Regions from separate parts of the Homo sapiens genome. Here region 2 is linked to region 1. The links are contacts of gene promoters, found by promoter capture Hi-C in blood cells and fetal thymus (Javierre and others, 2016). All regions are on one chromosome and are shown on one strand. The core of a region is centred on a gene start or on the middle of the fragment in contact, and the rest is flanking DNA. Distances in the headings are between cores, read along the strand shown. Region 1 holds the start of COG7 (component of oligomeric golgi complex 7). Region 2 overlaps NDUFAB1 (NADH:ubiquinone oxidoreductase subunit AB1).

The links. Contacts are between HindIII fragments. The CHiCAGO score rates a contact against its expected background, and 5 or more counts as called.
Region 2: a fragment that was not itself captured here is called in contact with the fragment with the promoter of COG7 in region 1 in 1 of 17 cell types (naive B cells); the score reaches 5.1 in naive B cells.

What each region holds. Positions count from the first base shown.
Region 1 is chr16:23,451,080-23,455,526 of GRCh38, forward strand. COG7 (component of oligomeric golgi complex 7) reads right to left here and starts at 2,110. Exons shown (of 17, transcript NM_153603.4): 1 at 1,747-2,110. The coding sequence starts at 1,915. LOC124903667 (a long non-coding RNA gene) reads left to right here and starts at 1,664. Exons shown (of 2, transcript XR_007065030.1): 1 at 1,664-2,186; 2 at 4,391-4,447. RefSeq lists enhancers at 1,770-2,099, 2,390-2,439. The HindIII fragment of the contact is 18,303 bases long and covers 1-4,447 here.
Region 2 is chr16:23,586,616-23,591,062 of GRCh38, forward strand. NDUFAB1 (NADH:ubiquinone oxidoreductase subunit AB1) reads right to left here. Exons shown (of 5, transcript NM_005003.3): 2 at 582-704. Among named protein-coding and RNA genes, the nearest start is that of NDUFAB1, 7.5 kb to the right of the region's middle. The HindIII fragment of the contact is 6,808 bases long and covers 1-4,447 here.

The sequences.
Region 1 (4,447 bases), core at 860-3,359:
CTACTCAGGAGGTAGAGGCAGGAGAATAACTTGAACTCAGAAGGGGGAGGTTGCAGTGAGCTGAGATGGCGCCACTGCACTCCAGCCAGGGGGAAAGAGCGAGACTTCGTCTCAAAAAAAACAAAAAAACAAACAAAAATGGGAACATCTCTTGGACTATCCACTCCCAGTGGAAGCAGTCTGTTTGGTCTTTCCATCTGAGCCTAGGAGAGAGACTTGTGTGCAGTACGTACTGAATCAACACACAGTGAATCAACACACGGTGAATAAAAGTCAAGTTGAGGAGTTACATGAAATGGTTGCCAGTGCATGTTATTTTTTATAATTTAACTTATCCTCAACAAATGGTTTAGGCCAGGCGTGGTGGCTCACACCAGTAATCCTAGGGCTTTGGGAAGCCAAGATGGGAGGATCACTTGAGGTCAGAAATTTGAGATCAACCTGGGCAACATAGTGCGACCTTGTCTCTAAAAAAAAATTTTTTTTTTTAATTAGCCAGGCATGGTGGCACATGCCTATAGTTCCAGTTACTTGGGAGGCTGAGGCGAGCGGACTGCTTGAACCCAGAGTTTGAGGCTGCAGTGAACTATGATGGTATCACTGCATTCCAGCTTGGGCAGCAGAATGAGGAATGAGACCCTGTCTCAAAAAAAAAAAAAAAAAAAAGGTTTAAGTCTCCACTGAGACCAGCCTATCTTCCTCAGCTGAAATAAAATCCACTAAAACAATGTTTTCTAGATCTGTGTCATTCTCTTATACCTATACTATAATACGTTTTTTCCAGATATATGGATCTGTTGGCTATTCTTTCATACTCTCAAAATTCACTTTTTTTTTCTTTTTACAGTTTATTGTTTGGTACAAAACAGGCTCTTTAACTCTTTGAATAAACACCTCACAGACTCGTGCTCCTAGATTACAAAAAGTCAAAGCCAATTTTCTTTGACACTGGGCTCTTGACTCTGAGATTCAAGTCACTATAACAGAAACTGGAGTTGTTTTATCTTATATTCTGGAAGGTGCCTCAACAAAGACATGTTAAGAACTGGTTAAAACTTCTAGCATTTAAAAAGATCCATCTTGTCTTCCAGTGCCTATGGATAATAATAAAAAGGGAATCCCAGAGATCTGCTATTGAATTATTTAGAGAAGAGCTACTGCAATAAGATCCACTCTTTTAAGTTCCAAAAGGAAACTTCAGGCCAGATGTGGTGGCTCACAGGTATAATCACAGTACTTTGGGAGGCCAAGACTGGAAAACCCATTATGCCCAGGAATTTGAATTTGAGACCAGCCTGGCAACACAGTGAGATCCCATCTCTACAATTTTTTTTTTAAACAGAATTTGTGGGGCGCGGTGGCTCGCGCCTGTAGTCCTAGCGACTCGAGAGGCGAGAGGATCGCTTGAGTGCAGGAGTTCGAGGCTGCAGTGAGCTATGATCGAGCCACTGTAGAGAGACCCTGTTTCAAAAGAAAAAACAAAGAGAAAGAAAGAAAAGAAAAAGGAAACTTATAGCCCAGCCAGAGGAGGAAAAACAACACCCAAAATTAGCAAGTGTTCAAGACAGCCCGGCACCCAGCTGAGACTCCCGCTGACGTGATCAGGAGTTCGGGGCTTGCTCTTTTGCCGAGGGTATTTGCTGTCCATGCGTGCCCCGCCCACCTGAGTGCCTCACGCAAGTTCGGTGACCTCTGCCCAGCCGAGAGCAGGGGAGGGTCCCGCGGCCAGGGCCCCGAGCGGCTCACCCTCCACGGCGTGGTTCACCTCTTGGATGAACAGCTGCAGCTTCATCACCAGGGTGGCTGCGTGGCCATCCGCCTTCCCGGACGCCGCCTCCTTGGAGCCGGCCCTGAAGGCCGCATTGATCCACTCCTTCACGTCGAAGTCGTCTGCCAGGAACTTGGAGAAGTCCATGGCGGAACTGCCTCAGGCCTGGCGTCCAGAACTTAAGAGTTGGCTCCGGGCGGCAACGGGGATGCAGAAGCGAGCGAGCCTGCGAGAGCACCGAGGCTAGCCTCCGAGGCGAACCCCAGAAACGCCAGGACGGGTAACTTGCCCCTTTGCGCTTCCCCGCTCAGCGCACTCAGTTTGCGGCTGGGAATGACCCTCGCCGCCCGCCGTTCTTCTTCCGGAAGTCGTTGGCCGTTACCATAGTGACTGCAGGCGTCCGGAGCGCTGAGCAGAGGTGGGTGTGGGAAAACGCCCCGGACTGAGAGCTCCCGGCACCGACAAATATCCCATGTCTGCTAACATTTGCCGAGGACTAAACTATATGCTTACTATAAAGCCCTGACATACATTAGCGCATTTACGCGGTGGCTCGCGCCTGTAATCCCAGCTCTTTAGGAAGCTGACGCGGGAGAATCGCTTGAGGCCAGGAGTTCTAGGACAGCCTGGGCAACAGTGGAGCGCAGTGGGCAGCAATGGAGTGCAATTGAACGATCTCTGCTCACTACAGCCTCAAATTCCTGGGCAATTGAACGATCTCAGCTCACTGCAGCCTCAAATTTCTGGGCTCCAGCGATCCTCCCACCTCAGCCTCCAGAGTAGCTGGGACTACAGGCGCGCGACAACACGCCCGGCTATTTCTTTCTTTTTCTTTCTTTCTTTATTTTTTTCTGAGACGGAGTCTTGCTCTGTCGCCCAGGTTGGAGCGAAGTGACGCGATCTCGGCTCACTGCAACCTCCGCCTCCCAGGTTCAAGCGAGTGTCTTGCCTCAGCCTCCCGAGTAGCTGGGATTACAGGCGCGTGCCACCACGCCCGGCTACTTTTTGTATTATTAGTAGAGATGGGGTTTCACCACGCTGGCCAGGCTGGCCTCAAACTCCCAACCTCAGGTGATCCGCCTGCCTCGGCCTCCCAAAGTGTTGGGATCACAGGCGTGAGTCACCGCGCCTGGCCTAACTAATTATTTTCTTAATGATGTGTTTTGAGGTGCAGACCTTTTAAAGTTTGTTAAGTTCCTTATCACCTTTTTTTATGGATCATGCTTTTGGTGTTGCGGCTGAGAAATCTGTGCATAACCCATAATCACAAACAATTTCTCAGCCTGGGCAACATAGGAAGACCCCGTCTCTGCAAAAAAATTAAAAATTAGCTGAGTGTGGTGGCGCACACCTGTAGTCTCAGCTACTCGAGAGGCTGGGGTGAGAGGATTGCCTGAGCCCAGGAGGTCGAGGCTGCAGTGAGCTGTGATCACGCCACTGCACTCCAGCCTGGGTGACAGAGCGAGACCCTGTCTCGAAAAGAAAAGAAGAAAAGGTAGGGGAAGGTATGAGGGTATTCTTTAGGTTCTAAGTTTTTATGTTGTTTCAAGAGTGGGACCAACCCAAGGGGGAGGACAAGATGTCATCCTTGGAAACCCTACAGGGGACAGTTTTCCAGGTTGGCCTGCCATTGGGGTATGAGTGGCTGGCTGCCATCTCCAGGCCTGATAGTCACTCGTTTTTCATTGGCATCTCCCTTGGTTTGTCTCATTCTTCTGGGTTGAGTAGGTTTTAACTGGGGTAACCCTTCTGCTAGGAGTCCCAGTTATTTGGGGGGAGGGGAGAGGAGGGAAGGAGAGAGGAGGGGAGCAATGCAGGGAGGGGAGACGAGGGGAGCAATCTGATAGTGTAAGTCCTCTTACTTTGCTCTTGTTAAAAATTTAGGCAGGACACAGTGGCTCACGCCTGTAATCCCAGCACTTTGGGAGGCCGAGGCAGGCAGATGATGAGGTCAGGAGTTTGAGACCAGCCTGACCAACATGGTCAAACCCCATCTCTACTAATAATAAAAAAATTAGCTGGGCATGGTGGCACGCGCCTGTAATCCCAGCCACTCAGGAGGCAGAGGCAGGAGAATCGCTTGAACCTAGGAGGCAGAGGTTGCAGTGAACCGAGATCCGCCACTGCACTCCAGCCTGGGCAACAGACCGAGACTCCATCCCCCCCAAAAAAAAAAAAAATCCTGCTGGGATTTTGACAGGGATTATGTTGAACTGTTGAATTGTTGGATTAATTTTAGGAGAATTGCCATCATGACAATATTGACTGTTCCAATCCATAGCATGAAACGCCTCTTCATTTATTTAGATGGGAATTTTTCAGCCTTGGCACTACTGAGCCCAGATAATTTTTAGTTATGGGGGCTGTCCTATGCATTGTAAGATATTTCGCAGCATCCCTGGCCGCTACCCATTAGGAGCAACATCCTCTCCAAGTTGTGGCAACCAAAAATCTGTCCACACAGTGCCAAGTGTTCCCTAGTAGGAATCACCCCTGGGGATTTAGATCTGATTTAGATCTTCTTTAATTTCTCTCAGCAATATTTTGTAGTTTTCATTGTATAATACAAGTCTTGCACTTATTTTGTTAAATTTATTTATTTATAAGTATTTCCTTTTCTAGGTGCAGTGGCTCATGCCTGCAATCCCAGCACTTTGGGAGGCCGAGGCAGGAGGATCA
Region 2 (4,447 bases), core at 704-3,203, 140 kb after region 1:
AGCTACCACGCCCGGCCCCACTTGTGTTTTTATTATTTATTATTATTTTTGAGATGGAGTTTCACTCTTGTTGCCTAGGCTGGACTGCAATCACGCTATCTCGGCTCACTGCAACCTCCACCTCCCGGGTTCAAGTGATTCTGCTGCCTCAGCCTCCCGAGTAGCTGGGATTACAGGTATGTGCCACCATGCCCGGCTAATTTTGTATTTTTAGTAGAGATGAAGTTTCTACATGTTAGTCAGGCTGGTCTTGAATTCCCGACCTCAGGTGATCCGCCCGCCTCGGCCTCCCAAAGTGCTGGGATTACAGGCATGAGCCACAGTGCCCGGCCAGTTGTGTTTTTTAAAAAGGGTGAGAGATACATACATATAATATACACACGTGTGTATACTTCTTTAACATATGCATTGAGTACCTTTGGAAACATACATGAAACTGGTAGCGCTGGCTATCTCCCAGAATGGGCCTGGGTGTCTGGGAGCCAGGGAGATTTTTACTGAGTATCTTTCCCTTTGCATTTTCTAGCATGTAATTAAATACTCTATATTTAAAGAAAAAAATTCAAACCACCATCAGTTACCTTCTCTGGGTCAATCTTGTCATAGAGTTTCAATACGTAAAGAACACGGTCCTGGATGCCCTCTAACGTCAAAGGAGGCATGTCGCTATACTGGCGGCACAACTGTGTAACTCTACCAGGAACCTAGAGCGACGGCAGGAAGGAAACACTGTCATTGAATGGAAAATACCTCTAAATCAATGCACAAGCCTATAGGTAACTTTCACAGAACTTTCGGGGCTTTAGAGAACCCACAGCATCTGATTCTCATTGTGGCCACCAGGACACACTAAGTTGCAGGACTGGGTAATCGCAGAAGCCCCAACAGTTCAGCAGCATCTCAGGCCTCCTTCCTGGGAGTCAGGACCGGCCCCTCTGCCTCCTGGCTTCAACCCTCAGGCTCTGGACATTCATACTGCTCTGCGACACTAACTGCCACTAAAATTGTCTAGCGTCTGCAGAATGCCTGTGTCTTCTCATGGCATCTTCAGCATCCCGAGGCCTCTACAGGGTGCTGCCACCTTTAATAGGCTGACCCAAGTCAAAATAACCCAAAAGGAAAGAGCTGTCATGGTAAACCCAAAGGCAATTCAAATTGAGGACCATACACCAGAAAGGTCTAGTTTGGTTCCAGCAGTTATCTCCCTGATCTCAGCCAGGACAAAGGAAGCTGGCCTCCCACCCAAAGAGGGGATGAGGGAGCTTACAGTCACTACATTCCAATCTGTTTCCCTTCCAGCGAGGCTTGCCTCATGGCCACCAGCCAAACCATGAGCCCTTCTGGCCTGTGCCATGTTAGAGCAATACCTCACGTATCTCTGGTATTAGTCGGCTCAATGTTTAGGTATTAGGGTATTGACCAGATTTCATTCAACAAATGTGGAATGAGCTGCAATTACAGGTCAGGGGGTTTAATGCTGTGGAAGGTACGACGCAGAATCAGAGAAAACAAAACAGGGTATCTGGCAGTTTTGCTCACTACTGAAATCCCTAATCTGGCTAGTCGTGGTGGCTCACGCCTATAATCACAACACTTTGGGAGGCCACGGTGAGCAGATCACCTGAGGTCAGGAGTTCGAGACCAGCCTGGCCAACATGGTGAAACCCCGTCTCTACTAAAAATACAAAAATTAGCCAGGCGTGGTGGTGGGCGCCTGTAATCCCAGCTACTCAGGAGACTGAGGAAGGAGAATCGCTTGAATGTGGGAGGAGAGGTTGCAGTGAGCCGAGCCTGCGCCATTGCATTCCAGCCTGGGCGACAAAGCAAGACTCCGTCTCAAAAAAAAGAAAAAGAAAGAAATCCCTAATCTAAATTGGTTTGTTTACCTCCTGAAGTTGATTTTAAGTCCGAGGCTTGGCGTTCTTCAGGCATTTCCCTATAGAAAGTGGGGCTGCTTGTTAGGGCTCAGGTCCCTGAAACTCACAAAGGTCCATGAAAAATCATAATAAATACTGCCCAGAGAACCAAACCAGTATAACCTCTGTAGAAGAAACATTCATCTTGCATAAAGAACAGGTATTGGGCCGATGTGTGTCTCACACCTGTAATCCCAGCACTTTGGGAGGCCGAGGTGAGCCAATCACTTGAGGCCAGGAGTTCGAGACCAGCCTGGCCAACATGGTGAAGCCTCGTCTCTACTAAAAATACAAAAATTAGCTGGGCGTGGTGGTGTGTGCCTGTAATCCCAGCTATTCAGGTAGCTGAGGCATGAGAATTGCTTGAACCCAGACAGAGGTTGCAGTGAGCCGAGACTGTGCCACTGCACTCCACCTTGGGCCACAGAGCGAGACTCTGTCTCAAAAAAGAAAAGAAAAAGAAGTCAGTTATTAAAATCAGGTTTAGGCTGGGCGCAGTGGCTCACACCTGTAATTGCCACACTTTGGGAAGCCGAAGCAGGCGGATCACGAGGTCAGGAGTTCGACACTAGCCTGACCAACATGGAGAAACCCCGTCTCTACCAAAAATATAAGTTAGCTGGGCGTGGTAACATGTGCCTGTAATCCCATCTACTCAGGAGGCTGAAGCAGAAGAATCGCTTGAACTTGGGAGTCGGAGGTTGCAGTGAGCCAAGATCATGCCATTTACACTCCAGCATGGGTGACAGAGTGAGATTCCGTCTCAAGAAAAAAAAAAAAAAAATCAGGTTTAATCAGCAAACTAAAGAGATGAGTTGGAGAGTATGATAGATATTCTAACGAGCCTTTCTGAGTACTTTCAAGAGTTTTAGAGCATGTTTCTTTGTCTAAATGTCTAGTCTCCTTTCGTATTATACATGGGTTAAGGAGACCTTTTATACAGGCACATGACCGGCCTACTTAACAATGACTCAAATAGGTTTCCAAGTCACAAATAAAATGGAGAAGAAAGGAATAAAGAGAAAGGGGGAGAAGAAATGAGGTAATATGGCAATGGCAGAAAAGAAATTTCAGTTGGAGGGATCTAACAGAGGCTGTGTGCTTATCAAGAAATGGTACGAGGCCAGGTGTGGTGGCTCACGCCTGTAATCCCAGCACTTTGGGAGGCCAAGGTGGGCGGATCTCTTGAGGTCAGGAGTTTAAGACCAGCCTGCCCAACACAGTGAAACCTCCATCTCTACTGAAAGTCCAAAAATTAGCCGGGCATCGTGGCGTGTGCCTATAATCCCAGCTAATCAGGAGGCTGAAGTGGGAGGATCACTTGAACCTAGGAGGCAGAGGTTGCAGTGAACTGAGATCATGGCTCTACACTCCAGCCTGGGCGGCAGGGTGAGACTCTGTCTCCAAAAAGAAAAAAAAAAAAAAAAAAAAAAAGAAATGGTACGATGCCAGGTGTGGTGGCTCACGCCTGTAATCCCAACACTTTGGGAGGCCAAAGTGGAAGGATCGCTTGAGCCCAGGAGTTCCAGACCAACCTGGGCAACAAAGCAAGACCCCTGGTGAGGGTATATTCTATGTTCGTACACAACTACCCATGAGGCCAACTAGGTTGTCAGCATTGTCCTCAGCAGCTCCAGCAAGTACCTACAAGGGCCAGGTGGGCACCATGTGATTAAATTAAACGAGTCTCTGACTGGAGGCCACATGCCAATCTAGAGTGGGTGCTGCATCAGGATCAGCGTGAGGCAGTAAGTTAGTGGGCAAGAGCTCAGACGCTGAAACTAGACCACCTATGCCTGCACCATGGTGCTGGCTCTCACTAGTTGTTTGGCCTTGGGTGGGTTACTTAACCTTCTACATCTCAGTTTCCTCATCTGTAAAATGGGGATAAACAACAGTACCACACTCACAGGACTGTTGTGAAGCATCAGTGAGATGAAGTAAAGGCTTGGACATTGGCTGGCACTTAACACAGTAAGTGCTATTTAGGGTTATTTAGTAGGATCCTGAGAACAATGACCAGCAGCAGCTAGTTTGATACCTTGGCTGTAGCGTAGCCCCAAAATACTTGATCCTACTACCCTCTCATGCTCCTGCCTCTGGTCTCTTTTTTTTTTTTTTTTCAGACAGAGTCTCACTGTGTTGCCCAGGCTGGAGTGCAGTGTTGTGACCTTGGCTCACCACAACTTCTGCCTCCCAGGTTCAAGTGATTCTTATGCCTCTGCCTCCCAAGTAGCTGGGATTACAGGCGTGCACCACCATGCCTGGCTAATTTCTGTATTTTTAGTGGAGATGAGGTTTTACCATGTTGGCCAGGCTGGTCCTGAACTCCTGGTCTCAAGTGATCCACTCACCTCAGCCTCTCAAAGTGCTGGGATTACATGCATAAGCCACCACGTCCCGGCCTCCATTAATTTCTTATCAGCTCAGGCTATGATATTGCACTTTACACACATCATCTTTCTTCAGCTCTCCAGTATTCTGGTGAGATCCATGATACTATCACCCTCCTTTTTACAGATGAGAAACTG